5 separate regions of the Homo sapiens genome follow, and regions 1, 3, 4 and 5 are each linked to region 2. Evidence: promoter capture Hi-C in 16 types of primary human blood cells and fetal thymus (Javierre and others, 2016). All regions are on one chromosome and are shown on one strand. Each heading gives the region's core, a stretch centred on a gene start or on the middle of the fragment in contact. The rest is flanking DNA. Distances are from core to core; before and after follow the strand shown.

Region 1 (3,113 bases), core at 549-3,048, 220 kb before region 2:
TGCCTGGCAATATGCATGTCTTCACATATTTATGAACACAACCACCTGCCTGGCACTGTCCGCCTCCTGTGTTCTACACTCGCCCGGGGTCCTGCGCTTGCGTTCTCAGTGGATGTCATAGGTCTGCCCACGTTTCTTTTTTGAGATGGAGTCTCGCTCAGTCGCCCAGGCTGGAGTGCAGTGGCGCAATCTCGGCTCACTGCAAGCTCCGCCTCCCGGGTTCACGCCATTCTCCTGCCTCAGCCTCCCGAGTAGTTGGGACTACAGGCGCCCACCACCATGCCCAGTTAATTTTTTCTGTGTTTTTAGTAGAGACAGGGTTTCACCGTGTTAGCCAGGATGGTCTGAATCTCCTGACCTTGTGATCTGCCCATCTTGGCCTCCCAAAGTGCTGGGATTACAGGCATGAGCCACCGCGCCCGGCAGGTCTGCCCACGTTTCTCTGTGTAGCTCCACTGGGCTTCTTTCGGCAGCTGTGCAATGGAGTCTGTGGGTGATCAGAGGAGAATTCATTCAACCAGCCACCTAGGGGTGGACATTAGGTTGTTTCTGCTTTCCTTTTTCAGCTGTGCTGCAGTGGACATCTGTGACAGGTGCCATTGGGCTGGGGGGTCACGTCCCCGGGGATGCCGGGCCGGGCATTCTACATCCTCTTCAGCTGCTGTCGTTGGGGTGCTTCCAGCCAGCCTGGTCTTCCCTTCCTGTGGCTTTGGGAGGGGAAATGAGCATGGGTCACCTGCCTGCCACTGTCTGCCTCCTGCCTCCTCTGAGGCCTCCCTTTGTCCTCAGCCCAGGTGACCTTCAGAAAGACATTGGAGAAGGAAGCAAAGGGAGAGGAGCCCGACATCGCAGTCCCCAAGTTCAAACAGAGGAAGGGGGAGTCTGACGGGGCCTATATCCACCGCATGCAGCAAGAGGCCCAGCATGTGCTGTTCCTCAGCAAGAACCAGGCCATCCGGCAGCCAGAGGTGCAGGCAGCTCCCAAGGAGAAGTCTGAGCAGAAAAAAGCAAAAAAAGCGTGAGTGGAGGCGGGAGGGGGAGGGGTCTGCCCTGGGAGCCGGAGGGAAGACATTGGGTTCCCATGACGGCCCTCTGCAGGTACCCTGTTTCATAGCCATGGGGCAGCCTGGATTCAGGGAGACCAAGCCAGAGCCCTGGGAGTTGGCGAGTCGGAGCATCCAGCTGGGAGCCAGTGAGGGTGTGGCCTCCAGGAGGCTGCGGAACCTGGGAACTCTGCGGAGACCTCGCTTGGTCCTTGCTTTCACAGGAAAAGCACCAGAAAGCCCTAGCCCTGTGGGAATCAGCCCTGAGGGGGTCGGTCTGAGGGTGACGTGCCCAGGGGTTCTGTTTCCATTAGAACAGAATGTCTCTCGTCCAAGAGACTACACCTTCCTAATTCTCTAAAAGCTTTGGCCGAGTACAGTGGCTCACGCCTGTAATCCCAGCACTTTGGGAGGCTGAGGCAGGTGGATCACGAGGTCAGGAGATCGAGACCATCCTAGCCAACACGGTGAAACCTTGTCTCTAATAAAATACAAAAAAAAAAATTAGCCGGGCGTGGTGGTGCATGCCTGTAATTCCAGATACTTGGGAGCCTGAGGCAGTGGAATCGCTTGAATCCGGGAGGCAGAGGTTGCAGTGAGCTGAGATCGTGCCGCTGCACTCCAGCCTGGTGACAGAGCGAGACTCCATCTCAAAAAAAAGAAAAAAAAAAAAAAGCTTTGAAGGTTTGAGAGGTTGCTTTCAGCTCTGTAGATTCCCTGTTTCTGGATTGTTGTATTACTTATAGTTACCTTAGCCAGTGAAAGTTCATCACAGAGAACGTGGCCCAGATACAGCCTGGCGCCACGGTGATCTCCAGAGCTGTCGCTGAAGGTGAAGCTTCCAGATTCACATTGAGGGAGACGTGATATACAATGCTTGTTAGGCCCTTTAGACACAGCAGCACCGGATGGGCTGGATGAGTCTCTGTTGGGTGGTCTTTGGCAGCCTTCCCAGCCTTCGTGCACAAGGTGCCAGTAGCCCTTGCCCACGTGTCTGCACACATTGTCAGATGTTCCCTGGCAGGTAGCTGTCCCCAGCTGAGAACCACTGGGGGACCTGTGAGGGGCCTGTTGGGGTCAGAGCCTTCTTTGGTGGGCAGCTGTGGGTTTTGGGGTGGTAAGGGGAGCGGGGACTTGGAGGCAGCCACCTGTTCTTGGGTCCCTGCTCTGCCACAGGGGATCCCTTGTGGGTGGGGCGGCCTCTGCCTCCTCCCTGGGTGGAAAGAGAATTTAGGAATCTGAGTGACATGTGCTTTCTTCCCCAGGTTCCAGAAGCGGCGACTAGATAAAGTCCGACGGAAAAAGGAGGAAAAGGCGGCAGACAGGCTGGAGCAGGAGTTGCTCCGAGGTAGCTCTTCCCAAAGCGATGGTGTCAGCAGTGGTCCGGGTGGGGCCTGGGCGCAGGCCTTCTGTTCCCCACCAGCCCTGGCTGCACTGGGCACCTGTGGTTTCCCCTGGGGTCCACAGCCATTAGACCACTGGATGAGTTGGTGTTCTGTCCCAGCCCTATGGGAGGGAGGTGGGCGGGTGGTGGCTCTGGGTGTCAGGGGTGCAGTGGCTGTGGGCAGCAGTCCTCAGTTGTATTCTGCTCCTCCAGACACGGTGAAGTTTGGTGAGGTTGTCCTGCAGCCCCCAGAGCTGACTGCCAGGCCCCAGAGGAGCGTAAGCAAGGACCAGGTAAGTGGGGCACGGGGACAACTTGAGTTTGTCCCCCAGTGCTGCCAGGGAACAGAAGCCTTGGACAGGCTGGACACGGTGGGTCACACCTGTAATCCCAGCACATTGGGAGGCCAAGGCAGGCGGATTGCTTGAGCCCAGGAGTTGATACCAGCCTGGACAACATAGCGAGATCCTGTGTCAAGAAAAAAAAAAACCCTCAGCCAACGTGTGCGCTGTCTGGTGTGTGGCCTGAGAGTGCAGTGTTCTCGCTGGCGGGAGAGCTGTTGAAGCTGTGAGGCTTTCTGTTGCATCCCCTCCTTTCCCAGCCTGTGCCTCACCCTCCCCTCTCTCCCTCAGCCTGGCAGGAGATCGCAGATGCTGCGGATGCTTCTGAGCCCCGGTGGTGTGTCC
Region 2 (3,386 bases), core at 447-2,946:
TGTGGGGATACTCCGGCCGCAGGCACACAGCGGGAACTGGAGTTCACCAAAAGCGGTTTCCAGTGGATGCTAGAAACCACCTTAAAAAAAGTGTTGAGACACTGTGAGTGCTCACTGGCCCTACTCTGTCCTCCCAAGGCAAATGGCTGGGCTGTGGGCAACTGAACCCTGCCCAGCCATCTCCAAAACTGATTCCCAAAAAGTCATTTCTTAACCAGAAAACAAGTTGAAATGCCATTGGGATTCAATTTTTCTTTTTTTAAAAAAGAAAAGCTTCAACCAAAGATGGATTTGAGAGTCATGTCACTGACGGGACACGGCGGTGGGGAGTGATAAAACCACAGCGTACAAGGTCTTTATAAGACAGTACTCAAGGCAAACAGAGCCAGAAAAACAGACTCCCTGTGCTTCACAAGATACATAAAGAAGATTCTTTTTCTCACATTAACCCACTAAGACAGGCACAAAATTTAAAAAGCAACTGGGCTGGGTCTAACAGCCAAAAACCACTCACATTTGGTCAGTCTTTGTCCCTGTTAGAAACTGGAAGCCCTGGCAGGGGATTTTCACTCACAGAACCCATCTTCAGACTAACAGCAGCAGTTCCTCAGGCTCAGCTAGGCTCGCACCTGCCTGCGCACTGACCCCGGCTTTACTAGCACTGGGTCTGTCCTGCAGCCCTTCAGAGCTGGGAGGGCTCCCTTCGCTAAGGCGGGAAGGGGACTCAGGGCCACATCCCCAAAATCACGATCCGTCCTGTGCAGGGCGAACGGCTCACCGAGAAGCCCTCGTCTCTTACCTGAATATCGGCGTCTGAGACTCCAAAATCCAGATTGGACACCAGCAGTTTCCCACCTGTCTCCACGCCGGCACCACCGCCGAAGCCACTGTCGAAAAGATCGTGCTGCCACTTGTCGGGAAGTTGTTTTGGCTGAAAAAAAAACCGCAACAAGAGCAGATCTGTGAGTCTCAGTCCAGGGCTTTCCTGACCCTCACGGCTACTCCGGACCCTTCCTCTTCCCGGCCTGAGAGGATCCGGCCGAAACGGGGCCGCCAGCGCTCCCTCCGGCGCTGCAGCTGCCCCAGCCCGAGGCCGCACGGTCCCACCGCGGCCGCACAACTTCAGTTCCCTTAGACTAACTTCCCGCCGCCTGTGCCGCGCCCAGCGTCCCCTCCTCTCCTGCCACGAGGCCCCAACGTCCGGAACAAACAAAGAGCTGGGAAGGGTCTCAGCCTCCGGGACCGGACCCCGAAAGAACGACCTCGCTCCCGCCCACCACCCCCTCCGCGCCCACACGCACCCTCCGGACCTCCGGGCGGCCGCTCCACCAGCCTTATCCACCCGCCGGCCCGGGTCTCCGCCGCGAGCGGCCCCGGCCCCAGCCCCGGCTGGCCCCCTCCCACTCTCCGGCGCGGCCGGCCTCCGCACTCACCCTGCTGTAGGGCGCCGGTCGGTTCCTGCCGCCTCCGCCGGCCGCGCCGCGGGCGATGGCCGGCCGGTTCCGGATGGGCCCGCCGCCTCGATTCACTCGCGCGGCGGCCTGCGCCCCACCGCCGCGGCCGCCCTGGGAGCCGGCCCGGCCGCGGCCCCGGCCCCCGCCCCGGCCGCCTCGCTGGCTCCGGTTCAGTTTAATGATGTCGTCCAGAGACATGTCCATTTTGTCGGCCATGGCGGGCGCGGAATCGGGCATCGGCTCGAGCCCGCGCGTCAGCACGCCGGCACGTCACTTCCGGCGCCGCGTGAGGCCTTCCGGTGCCACGGCCTCGGAGCGGCTGCTGATTGGCCGCTGGCGGACGGCTGCGCGCGCGGGACGGGGTGAGGCGGGGAGGCGCGTGCGCACTGGCGTGCGAGACTCGGCGGGCGCTGTTGAGGGAGTCGGGCCGCGACTGTGGTCGTTTTTATACCTTCCCGCGCGGACGCCGGCGCTGCCAACGGAAGGGCGGGTAGGGCGGTGCGTGATTAGGTTGGCGAAGGTGCGAGGGCGCAGGGGGTGGGGCGGCGGCCGTTGGAGGCGGAGCCTACGCGCCCCTCCCTCCCCGCACGCTCCGCCCGATCGGCCAGGGCTGGGGGCGCTGGGGGCGCTACGGGCGCGGCGGGTGCCTGGGAGCTGCTGGGAGTCCTTGTTTCCGCTCCCGCCCAGGACTGTGCGCTCGGCTCGCGGTGGGGTCCGGCGGGCGCGGCTTCGGCGGGCGGCAGCCGCTGCAGACGAGCTGCGGGTTGGTTTTTTGGTCTCCACCTGCAGCCCCCCCAAGTCTGCACTGTCACATTTTGCCAGTCATATCCTTTACAAGTTTTCTTGCGGGCCGGGCGCGGGCCTCACGCCTGTAATCCCAGCACTTTGGGAGGCCGAGGCAAGAGGTTCGCTTCAGCCCAGGAGTTTGAGACCAGCCGGGGCAACATCGTGAGACCCCCATCTCTAAAAAAAAAAATGAGCTGGGCATGGTGGTGCACTTCTGTACTACCAGCTACTTGGGAGGCCGAGGTGGGAGGATTGCTTGAGCCCAGGAGGTCGAGGCTGCAGTGAGCCGTGGTGGCACCACTGCACTCCAGCCTGGGCGACAGAGCCAGACCCTGTCTCCAAAAAAAAATTATTTTTGCAACTTATTAATGAAAACCAGTGTGCCATTTCATTGATTTTTTTTTTTTTTTTTTGAGGCAGTCTCATTCTGTCGCCCAGGCTGGAGTGCAGTGGGGCGATCTCGGCTCACTGCAACCTCTGCCTCCTGGGTTCAAGCGAGTCTCCAGCGGCAGCCTCCCGAGTAGCTGGGACTACAGGCACGTGCCACCATACCTGGCTAATGTTTGTATTTTTAATAGAGACAGGGTTTCGCCATGTTGGCCAGGGTGGTCTTGAACTCCTGACCTCAGATGATCCGCCCGCCTTGGCCTCCCAAAGTGCTGGGATTACAGGCATGAGCCACCACACCCAGCCCATTTCATGGATTTTAAGTTGTTTTGAGATACTTGCTTTTGTTTTTGTTTTTTGAGTCAGGGTCTCCCTCCGTCACCCAGAGTGGAGTGCAGTGGTGTGATCTTGGCTCACTGCAGCCTCAAACTCCTGGGCTCGAGCTATCCTCCCACGTCAGCCTCTCAGGCAGCTGGTGCACGCCACCACAGCTGGCTTTTTTTTTTTTTTTTGAGACAGTCCCACTATGTTGCCCAGGCTGGAGTGCAGTGGTGCGATCTCGGCTCACTGCAATCTCTGCCTCCCAGGTCCAAGTGATTCCTGTGGCTCAGCTTCCCGAATAGAGCTGGGAGCTGGCGTGATCTCAGCTCGCTGCAACCTCCGCCTCCCAGGTTCAAGTGATTCTCTTGCCTCACCCTCCCGAGTAGCTGGGATTACAGTTGCCCACCACCACACCCGGCTAATTTTTTGTATTTTTAG
Region 3 (3,036 bases), core at 385-2,884, 160 kb after region 2:
AAACCAGCGAACTCCACGCGCGTTATGTGGGTGCCTCCTCTTTGCCCTCCACACACCCACGCACAAGTGCACACACCCACGCACGCAGACACTGCCACGCACACACCCACTGATGCACACAGACGCACACACGGGTGGATACTCACCTACATGCACGTACACACCCACTCTCAATGTGTCCACTGAGCTTCGTGTACACGCCCACGCACACCCACCCTCATACACACCCACGTGCACCTGGCTCCACACAACACACGGGAGGAGGCAAGCACGATGCTCAGGAAGGCGGCCTCTCAGGGCAGCGTCCAGTGTCCGTCCCTCCCGGCGGGACCCTCGCACGCCACCTCTGCTGGAGATTTTGGCTTCCAAAGAAGAGTCTGGTGGGTTCAAGGCTGGGTGGGCAGGACGGCAAGGATACAGCCCTGCCTGGGACAGAGCCTTCCTGGGGTAGAAGGGGGATATGGCAGGGACCCGAGGAGAGCTGGGCCGGTGGGTGACTAAGACAGGAGCCACGTGAAGTAAGAACAAAAGCTTTACTCGTGCTCGGCAACAGCAAAGCAGGAGGCAGAGGGGAGATGACGGCCCCTGTCCCATTTCCCTCCATGGAAGGCACCAGGCGGGGAGGTGGGTCTGCTGGGATGGGCAGGTCAGCGGAACAAAAGGCTCCTGTTGTTTATGGGCCCAGGCACAGTGGGGCAGGAGCACGACCCAGAAAGTAGTCCTGAGCCACAAGTCAGAGCGGAGAAAACATCTCTGTGGTCCCAGTCAAGAGGCCTCCGAATGAGGCGCCTGGACTGGGAGCAAAGCTCTGGTCGAGAACATGACCTTCCCGGGCCTGAGTCCCACTGTGGTGCCCGGCCGTGCACCCAGCCTGCGGCAGAGAGGGCGGCGTCCCCCACAAAGCCTGCCAGGCTGAGCCCTTGCAATGGCCGTGGCTGGGCCAGGACCTTGGCCTGGAGCCTGCTCCTTGACACCCAGCCAGCCTAGCACCCGCCTTCAGCAACAGGTAATGGAGCCCGGATGGCAGCTCCCTCCCAGGTGCGCAAGTGCTGGGGTGGAAGCCTGTTCCCGTGGGATCAACCTTGGGGCTGGGTCGGGGGGAGGGGCACTGCGGCCCTGGCCATCAGCCTGGCTGTCTTCGTTCTCCCAAAACACCCATCACCGCAGCCCACCAGGGGCTGGGAGAGGGGGGGCTGCAGGCTAGCCAGAGGGTCTGCCAGGTGCCTGCATCTCACTGGTGTGGCCGTGGCACCTGAGGGAGCCCACTGAGCCCATAGGGGGCTCTGGTTCCCCGCGCCTGGGACAGAGCCAGGCAGCCCTGGGTCGGGGTGGTTGGTGTCACCGAGAGGTCGGGGCGCCCTGTTTCTGCCTGGGACACCAGTCCGTGTCTGGGTACAGAAGACAATGGATAGACTTAAACCTGGGGAAGGAAGAAGTAGGGGTCAGGGCCGTGGGCGGAGAGAGAAGCGGGGGCCAGGGCCGTGGGCGGCGGGAGAACCTGGGGTCAGGGCCGTGGGTACAGGGAGAAGCCGGGGTCAGGGCCGTGGGCGGAGGGAGCAGCGGGGGTCAGGGCCGTGGGTAGAGGGAGCTGATGCCAGAGCCCCTGCGGGGCCGAGGGCCTGCCCATGCCACTACCTACTCACCGTGTGGGGTCTTGATGCAGGCTGAAGCCTCCAGCCACGTTCACCACGTTATGTGGGTTCTCAGGACCCCCATGGCTCAAGGTAACCTGGGAGGGAAGGGTGTGGGCAGAGTGTGTGGCCTGGTCTGGTCTCGGGCCACGCCTGCCCCTGGCCAGGAGCCCTGCTAGAGCCCCTTTGCCCACCCCCTCTCCCCAGGCCCTCGGGGAGGCCAGGCTTGGAAACAGCATTGAAGCATGGCATGAGCTGAGTAGGGGGACACCTCAGGCAGAGCCTGGGGGACAGAAGATAGGGATCTGAAACCTCCAGGGCAAAGCTGACCCTCATTCCCTCCCTGCTCCACGTGATGGGACCTGTTCCGACTCACCATCACCATACACACCACACCCACTGCCCAGCTGGCATGGGGCCTCACTGGCCCGAGAACTGTGCTTCTCCCCTCGTTCCTCTGCCCCAGACACCATACCCCATCTGTACGTGAGGACCCTGTGTCCAACAGGCCAAGGGGCCTGTCCAGGGTCCACCCCCAGCCACATGCAAATCCCACCTGCCTGCTCAGCCGGGCATCGGGCCGGGGCAGTGGGGCCCCTGGGGGAGTCAGGGCGGGGCAAAGCCCAGGTGGCAGAGGCACCCAGAGTGGCGCCTGTACCTGCTGGAGCAGGGTGTCGGGCGGCAGCCTCTGCAGGTTCTCCAGGTGAGAGTGGAAGAGGGGGCTGTGCAGCAGGCGGGCGCCCAGGAGCCCCTCCACGATGTAGCCAACTGTGCAGTCATCCGGCAGCCGCACCTGCTCAGCTGTGCTCATGAAGCTGCCCAGGCTGGGGGGAGGCCGGTCAGCACCTTTCAGGTCTCAGCCTCCGCCTCCCAGCCCGGGCAGCTGGACCCCCACTCACCTGGCCCATGGGCTCATCTTGAGGGCAAGGCCTCTGCTGAGGCAGAACCCGGCCCCACCAGTAGCAAACCAGAACTTGACCGTGGTCACCTGAAGATGGGGTGGTGGTCAGAGCTGCCCAGGACAGGGCTTCTCACCCCTGACTCTTCATGGGACTCCCCAGGCATCTTTCTTAAGCTGCCCCTTAGGAGATCCCACCCAGGTAACAGAAGCTTCTTGGAGCAAAAAGAGCCGGGGGCTTCTGCAGGCCATTGACCCGTAGCCTCCAGACCCTCCCCACCTGGCCCAGACACCCCCTCTCTGCCCAGTACGGTGAGGGCCTCCTGGCCTGCTCCTGAAACACCACATGCAAACCACCTGGGTGGATCAGCTTGGGCCCCCAACCCTATGCCCTTCTCAAGCCAGCTTTCCACGCCCTCTGCTGTGCCTCCCGGGCTGGTGTCAAGGAAGGCGTCTGCTCCGATGGCGTCTGCTCCGACACTCACAGTTCTGCCACCCTGGACCCTC
Region 4 (3,218 bases), core at 211-2,710, 130 kb after region 2:
GCAAGAATCTTCAACTCCACCACCAGAGTTCCCCACACCGACACCCCCCGCCCCCCACGCCTGCTGCCTTGGGTGATAAAGAAGGGCCTGATTCAGGAGAAACAGAATTCTCCCTGCTTCTACAGGGCTGAAGTCCTCCCTCCAGGATGGGTTCACAAGGGCCTGAGACCCTCCCTTCCCAGGCCACAGAGGCCCACGAGGCCCTGCTGACATCGAGGAAGCTCGGTGCCCCAACCTTCAGGTAGAGCAGTAGAAAGGTTCAGAAACCACTCTGCCTGCACCGATGGGGTCCTCTGCACATGGCACCCCCAGAGAGCTCCACTTCCAGGAACAGGGAAGAGCAGGGCACGCCCTCCAGCCTGGGCGGATCCTGGCTCAGACGGCCTAGGTCTGACCCTAGCCCTGCTGAGTCACTTAACGCCCCCGTGCCTCAGTTTCTCCACTGGCAGGTGGGGTTAATCCCTGTCAAGTGTGTGTAACGTGGAGCACCGAAGAAACCACGCGTTCCTAGCCCAGTGCTGGCGCCCACCGGGGAGCAAACAAAAGGGAAACCACTGTGCCTGGCGGCTGGGGTAGGTCCTGCCGGCTCCTCGGGCTGGACGATCTCACTGTCCCCGTCCTGGGGCCTCATCTCCCCTTAACAAAAGACCCCAGGCTCAGGGCGCAGGGCGGCGGCCCAGCTCCTCCTCTCTCTTCGCCGGCTTGGACTCCGCCGTGACGGCGCCCACCCCTGCCTGTTTCTGCAGACCCTCTCCACCTTCCCGCAGCCCCGGCTGCTCCACGCCCCCTCCTACCAGCTGCGAGACACCAGCCCACGAGGGCGCGGGGCGCGCGGCCCGGCCGGAGATGGAGTCTGAGAACGGGCCCAACCTCAAAGGCACAGGGGGCGGCGCGGGGGCTGGCGTCTGGCCCTCACAGTGTCACGCGTGAGGTCGGGACGGAGCGTCCGCGCCTGCCTAGCCCCTGCCCTCCGGCCCTCACCTTCCGGAAGCCGGATCCAGCTCCTGCTCCCTCCATGACCGCAGCCTCAACGCGCGCCCACCGGAACCCCGCCCCGCGCCTCCAGCCAATGAGACCGGAGCGCGCCCCCGGAGCCCCGCCCCGCGCCCCTAGCCAATGAGTCCGAAGCGCCTGCTCTCGGAGCCCCGCCCCCACGTCTCAGCCAATGAGCCCGGAGCGCGCCCTCCAGCAGCCCCTCCCTCACGTCCCGCAGCCAATGAACTTGGAACGCGCCCTCCCGGGGCACCACCCTCACGACCCTCAGCCAATGAGCCCGGAGCATGCCCTCCCGGGGCCCCACCCTCATGCCCCTAGCCAATGAACCTGGAGCGCGCTGCCCCCTCTCAGCTTGCGGCCCGAAAGGCGCGCCAGTTCCTTTGTTCTCATTGGCCCGCACCAAGCGCTGCCTGCGCAGAGCCTGCTAGGAGTTGTAGTTCCCGCGGCCTCTCCCGGCGCGCCTTGTTCTTCCTGGATACTGAGGCCCCGACGCGGCTGTCGCGAGGGCGGGGGTCGGGGCTGCAGGCGGGGCAGGGCTGGGTGGGGGCGCGCGACGCACCTGCCTGCTTCCTGCACGGGTGGTCCCCAAGCACTGCGGGGCCCCAGCCCAAAGCGGACCTTGACTACCGCCCAGCCCCGCGCTCCCAGGACCTCCCGCCCGCGGAGCCCACTCGGATTGCTCTCCGCCCGGGTCGGCGGAGGCCCCGTCTCCTGTACCCGGCGCTGGGACTGCTCCGCACCGCGCGGCTCCCTTTCAGCAGCTGCGGGAGCATGCGGAGGAGGCCCTGCCGGCCCCGCGGGTCATGGAGGAGTTCCGGCGCTCCTACAGCCGCCTGTGCAGGGAGAGTGGGGCCGAGCCCCAGGAGGCTGTCCTGCAGCAGCTGCACCAGCTTCCCAGGGGCCGGCTGGACCTGGCCACGCAAAGCCTGACGGTGGAGACCTGCAGGGCCCTGGGCAAGCTGCTGCCGAGGGAGACGCTGTGCACGGAGCTGGTCCTGAGTGACTGCATGCTCAGCGAGGAAGGTGGGCAGGCGCGGCGGGGTGGATCCCTCTGCTCCTTAGCTGCCCACACCATTGCCTCGGCAGCCCGAGGTCGCTTCCTCTCCAGGCTCTCCAATTTCTGTGCCGTAGTTAAAGCGAGCAGGGGCGCCCCTTCCTGCACCTGGGAGTAGAGGGCAGTTCCTCTGTATGACGGGGGAGAGGCCTTAACATTCGCGGTCTTACCTGGTTCCCCGCGTGCAGAGCCGGCTTGGTGCCTGGCAGGGGCTGCAGGTGTTTCAAACATGACTTCGCAGCGAGACTCTTGGCCAGCGCCAACCCAGACCATCGGGACAGTTGTCCCTTCCTGGGTCTAGGGAGCTGCCCTGAAAAGGGGCCCACGGGGAGGGCCTTGGGGTCAGCAGGGGCAGAGAGTGACCGCCGGCCCCCCTTACACAGGGGCCACACTGCTGCTCCGAGGCCTGTGTGCCAACACCGTGCTGCGCTTTCTGGACTTAAAGGTGAGATACCTGCACTCTTGAGTGTCCGAGTGTGCCACCCAAGGGCAAGAGGAGAGGTGGAAGATGCCAGGTCTCGGGGGCCTGGGGTCTGGGCAGGTGGCTGGAAGCTGTCTGTGAGTCCCCAGGCCGCTCTCTGATGGCCTCCTGTGTGTGACCATCTCCAGAGCAAGAGTTCACATTGGCAAACAAGCCGGCCCTTGGAAGCCCCCTGAAGACAGGGAGCCCAGGAGCTGAGGAAGGCTGCAGGGTGCACCCCAGGCTTGTCCCCTGGCTGACCAAGGCCCTTGGGGCATGGGCGGGAATTCAGAGCCAGTCAGGGCACGCGAGTGACTACCGGCCTGTTTCTCTCCTAGGGCAACAACCTTCGGGCTGCAGGGGCCGAGGCTCTGGGAAAACTCCTCCAACAGAACAAGTCCATTCAGAGGTGGGTGGTGGTCCCGACCCCAGGCCCTGTCTCTGTGTGGTTGAGGATTGGCCCCGAGCACATGCTTCTGCAGCCCAAGAGTTCCCCATTGCCAGGTGCCCATGTTTCACATACGTTGGCAGGGGTAGGCAGAGGCTCCGGCCCATCAGACCCCAAGCCCACACCCGTCCCCAAGCCCTGGACCCCACGGGCTAGGCAGTCCCCTAGGTGAACACTGGCTTCTGCCCCTCCTGCAGCCTCACGCTGGAGTGGAACAGCCTGGGCACGTGGGACGATGCCTTCGCCACCTTCTGCGGGGG
Region 5 (3,235 bases), core at 221-2,720, 240 kb after region 2:
GACATAATTACTGAAATAACATTTCCCAGGATTACAAATCAGTTTCGTTAAACTCACTGAGGATTCCAACAAGGTTTTTGGAGGGTGTTTATAACTGTTGACATTTCACATATTGGAAATTGAAACAGACATTTTTTTTTTTGAGATGGAGTTTCGCTCTTGTCCCCCAGGCTGGAGTGCAGTGGCGCGATCTCGACACCCCCAGAACATCCACCTCCTGGGTTCAAGCAATTCTCCTGCCTCAGCCTCCCAAGTAGCTGGGATTACAGGCATGCGCCACCACGCCCGGCTAATTTTGTATTTTTAGTAGAGACGGGGTTTCTCCATGTTGGTCAGGCTGGTCTCGAATTCCCGACCTCAGGTGATCTGCCCGCCTTGGCCTCCCAAAGTGCTGGGAATACAGGTGTGAGCCATGTGCCTGGTCAAAACAGAAAAATTTTAAAGCTTTTTTATCAATTAACTTGAAGTTAGCCATGATGAACATATTGCTTATGATCAACATCTGAGGAGCATCGCAGGATTAGCTCTGCCCTGTGGACATCCCGAGATGGGCCCTCAAGTAAAGCATCAGTTTCTTCTACGCAATAAAAGAACCCAAAGATGACACTTGGAAATGAACGTGTTTCCCTTGGTTTATAAACACCTGAATTTAAAAGCCATGAAGTCAGAAGATGCACGTGTGGGCAAAAACCTCCTGAAGACACTCAACACCATTGGTCACCAGGAGAATGTAAAATCAAGCCCACTATGGGATCCCGCCTCACACCCACTAGGTTGGCTGGGATCAACAGGATAGAAAACAGCTGGGTGCGGTGGCTCACACCTGTAACCCCAGCACACTGGGAGGCCGGGTGGGGGGGATCCTTGATGTCAGGTGTTGGATACTGGCGTGGGCAACACAGTGAGATCCCACCTCTATTTTTAAAAGAAATTTTTTTAAATATAAAAAAAATAAAGTTTTTAAAGATATGCAATAAAAGTATTCTTAATTAAAAAAAACCCCGACAGAAAATAGCAAGTGCTGGTGCAGATGTGGAGAAATCAGAACCTTCGTGCGCAGCTGGTGGGCATGGGAGGCGGTTTGGTGGCTCCTTACCAGGTTAGACACAGAATTCCCACATGACCCAGCAAGGCCACTTCTAGGGAGGCATCCAAGAGAACTGAATGTTCACAGCAATATTATTCACAATAGCCCAAAGGCGGAAACCATCCAAATGTCCATCAAACTGATGGACAAATGCCTACAGTGGCCTGTCCCCCAGCAAAGAGCTCTTCCCATGGAAAGGAATTAAGTGCAGACGCCCCAGCACGAGGGACCCTCAAACAGGACACAGAGGGAAAGAAGCCAGGCACAAAGGGACACATCCTGTGGGATCCTGCTGAAGTGAAACGTCCAGAACAGGCAAAGGCATGGAGGCAGAATGTGGGTGCTGGGCGGGGGACAGGAAGCAACTGCGAATGAGTGTGGGGTTTCCTCTGAAGTGAAAGGAATTCTGGAACAAATGATGATGCTCGCACAACATTCTTGACGTGCTTAATGCACTGAACTGTATACTTTGTATACTTCATGAGCTTTCAACAGTACATTTTATATGTATAGTACCAAAAAAAAAAAAAAAAAAAGAAAACTAGTTTTTTTGAGACAGAGTCTTGCTCTGTCACCCAGGCTGGAGTGCAGTGGTGCAATCGCGGCTCACTGCAGCCTCCACCTCCTGGGCTCAAGCGATCCTCCCACCTCAGCCTCCCAAGTAGCTGGGACCACACCCAGCCAAGTTTTTTGTTTTTTAGTAGAGACAGGGTGTCACTATTCTGCCCAGGTTAGTCTCAAACTCCTAGCCTCAAGTGATCCTCCTCCCTTGGCCTCCCAAAGGGCTGGGATTAGAGGCATGAGCCACTGCACCCAGCTGAAAGCTAGGTCTTGTTTTCTCAATCCTTACTTGGTTGAAAGAAAGCTAGTTTTTTAAAAAGCCATGAAATGTGTTAAAATCTTAGCAAAGTTAGCCCAATTTTGATGGGTTTGTTTCCTTGGTGTACTACTTTTTTTTTTTTTTTTTTGAGACAGAGTCTTGCTCTGTCATCCAGGCTGGATGGAGTGCAGTGGTGTGATGTTGGCTCACTGCAACCTCCACTTCCCAGGTTCAAGCAATTCTCCCGCCTCAGCCTCTTCAGTAGCTTGGATTACAGGCACCTGCCACCATGCCCGGCTAATTTTTGTATTTTTAGTAGACAAGGGGTTTCACCGTGTTGGCCAGGCTGGTCTTGAACTCCTGCAAGCATCCTATGATCCGCCCACCTCGGCCTCCCGAAGTGCTGGGATTACCGGCGTGAGCCACTGCACCCAGCCTTCCTTCGTTTACTATTTATTGACTTCCCCTAAACTATGAAGGGTTATTCTTTACTTTCTATGTAATCTGTTCAGACAGCAAAGGTGCTGTCTTACCAGGGTAATTTTCCGTGCTTTTGTTGACTTATTATGTCTTGATGGTTTCAGAAAACAAAGCTTCCCATGCTTATGAAAGAGCTAAGTTTCTCTATAACTGTTCTCTCCTATGTTTAAGCTTTTTGTCACTTTCACGTGGGTAGCTAAATATTATTTCTCAGGTACCCATGAGTCTTAATGTTCAAATCTCCTGACATTTTTTTTTCCTTCTCAAAATTGAATTCTAAATGTCAAATAAAATAAAGCTTTCAGGAGACTTTTCTTTTTTTTTTTTTTGAGATGGAGTCTCGCTGTGTCGCCAGGCTGGAGTGCAGTGGCGCAATCTCGGCTCACTGCAACCTCTGACTTCTTGGTTCAAGCGGTTCTCCTTCCTCAGCCTCCCGGGTAGCTGGGATTACAGGCACCCGCCACCATGCCTGGCTAATTTTTGTATTTTTAGTAGACGCGGGGTTTCACCTTGTTGGCCAGGATGGTCTTGATCTCTTGACCTCGTGATCCACCTGCCTCGGCCTCCCAAAGTGCTGGGATTACAGGTGTGAGCCACTGTGCCCAGCCCCAGGAGACCTTTTATATTTAAAATGATCTATGAGATGTCCTAGAAGTTCCCTGGAAAATCACAAAATTTTTTTCTTATAAAAAGAGAGGTATTTGAAATAATTAGGTACAAGGTGGGGTGTGGTGGCATGCGCTTGTGGTCCCAGCTACTTGGGAGGCTGAGGCAGGAGGATCTCTTTTTTTTTTTTTTTTTTTGAGACGGAGTCTCGCTCTGTTGCCCAGGCTAGAGTGCAGTGGTAC

The links. The method cuts DNA at HindIII sites, captures the fragments that hold promoters and counts their contacts. A CHiCAGO score of 5 or more calls a contact.
Region 1: a fragment that was not itself captured here is called in contact with the fragment with the promoter of ALYREF in region 2 in 10 of 17 cell types (naive B cells, erythroblasts, megakaryocytes and 7 more); the score reaches 8.5 in naive B cells.
Region 3: a fragment that was not itself captured here is called in contact with the fragment with the promoter of ALYREF in region 2 in 2 of 17 cell types (erythroblasts and endothelial precursors); the score reaches 5.6 in erythroblasts.
Region 4: the fragment with the promoter of LRRC45 here is called in contact with the fragment with the promoter of ALYREF in region 2 in 1 of 17 cell types (endothelial precursors); the score reaches 5.2 in endothelial precursors.
Region 5: a fragment that was not itself captured here is called in contact with the fragment with the promoter of ALYREF in region 2 in 1 of 17 cell types (endothelial precursors); the score reaches 5.1 in endothelial precursors.

Annotation. Positions count from the first base shown.
Region 1 is chr17:81,669,436-81,672,548 of GRCh38, forward strand. CCDC137 (coiled-coil domain containing 137) reads left to right here. Exons shown (of 6, transcript NM_199287.3): 3 at 790-1,018; 4 at 2,309-2,391; 5 at 2,641-2,720; 6 at 3,060-3,113. Among named protein-coding and RNA genes, the nearest start is that of CCDC137, 4.3 kb to the left of the region's middle. The HindIII fragment of the contact is 162 bases long and covers 1,718-1,879 here.
Region 2 is chr17:81,889,890-81,893,275 of GRCh38, forward strand. It overlaps ALYREF (Aly/REF export factor), which reads right to left and starts at 1,697. Exons shown (of 6, transcript NM_005782.4): 1 at 1,434-1,697; 2 at 800-931. The coding sequence starts at 1,691. ANAPC11 (anaphase promoting complex subunit 11) reads left to right here and starts at 1,834. Exons shown (of 4, transcript NM_001002248.3): 1 at 1,834-1,952. RefSeq lists silencers at 1,714-2,253, 3,134-3,349. The HindIII fragment of the contact is 23,230 bases long and covers 272-3,386 here.
Region 3 is chr17:82,047,388-82,050,423 of GRCh38, forward strand. It overlaps RFNG (RFNG O-fucosylpeptide 3-beta-N-acetylglucosaminyltransferase), which reads right to left. Exons shown (of 8, transcript NM_002917.2): 4 at 3,015-3,036; 5 at 2,531-2,619; 6 at 2,290-2,455; 7 at 1,644-1,729; 8 at 515-1,420. The coding sequence ends at 1,339. Among named protein-coding and RNA genes, the nearest start is that of RFNG, 2.9 kb to the right of the region's middle. The HindIII fragment of the contact is 2,210 bases long and covers 530-2,739 here.
Region 4 is chr17:82,021,845-82,025,062 of GRCh38, forward strand. LRRC45 (leucine rich repeat containing 45) reads left to right here and starts at 1,461. Exons shown (of 17, transcript NM_144999.4): 1 at 1,461-2,019; 2 at 2,434-2,495; 3 at 2,849-2,919; 4 at 3,156-3,218. The coding sequence starts at 1,800. It overlaps CENPX (centromere protein X), which reads right to left and starts at 1,034. Exons shown (of 5, transcript NM_001271006.2): 1 at 982-1,034. The coding sequence starts at 1,017. RefSeq lists a silencer at 725-1,774 and an enhancer at 1,511-2,434. The HindIII fragment of the contact is 18,366 bases long and covers 1-3,218 here.
Region 5 is chr17:82,134,977-82,138,211 of GRCh38, forward strand. All of the region lies in intron 15 of CCDC57 (coiled-coil domain containing 57), which reads right to left. Among named protein-coding and RNA genes, the nearest start is that of FASN, 38 kb to the left of the region's middle. The HindIII fragment of the contact is 2,056 bases long and covers 443-2,498 here.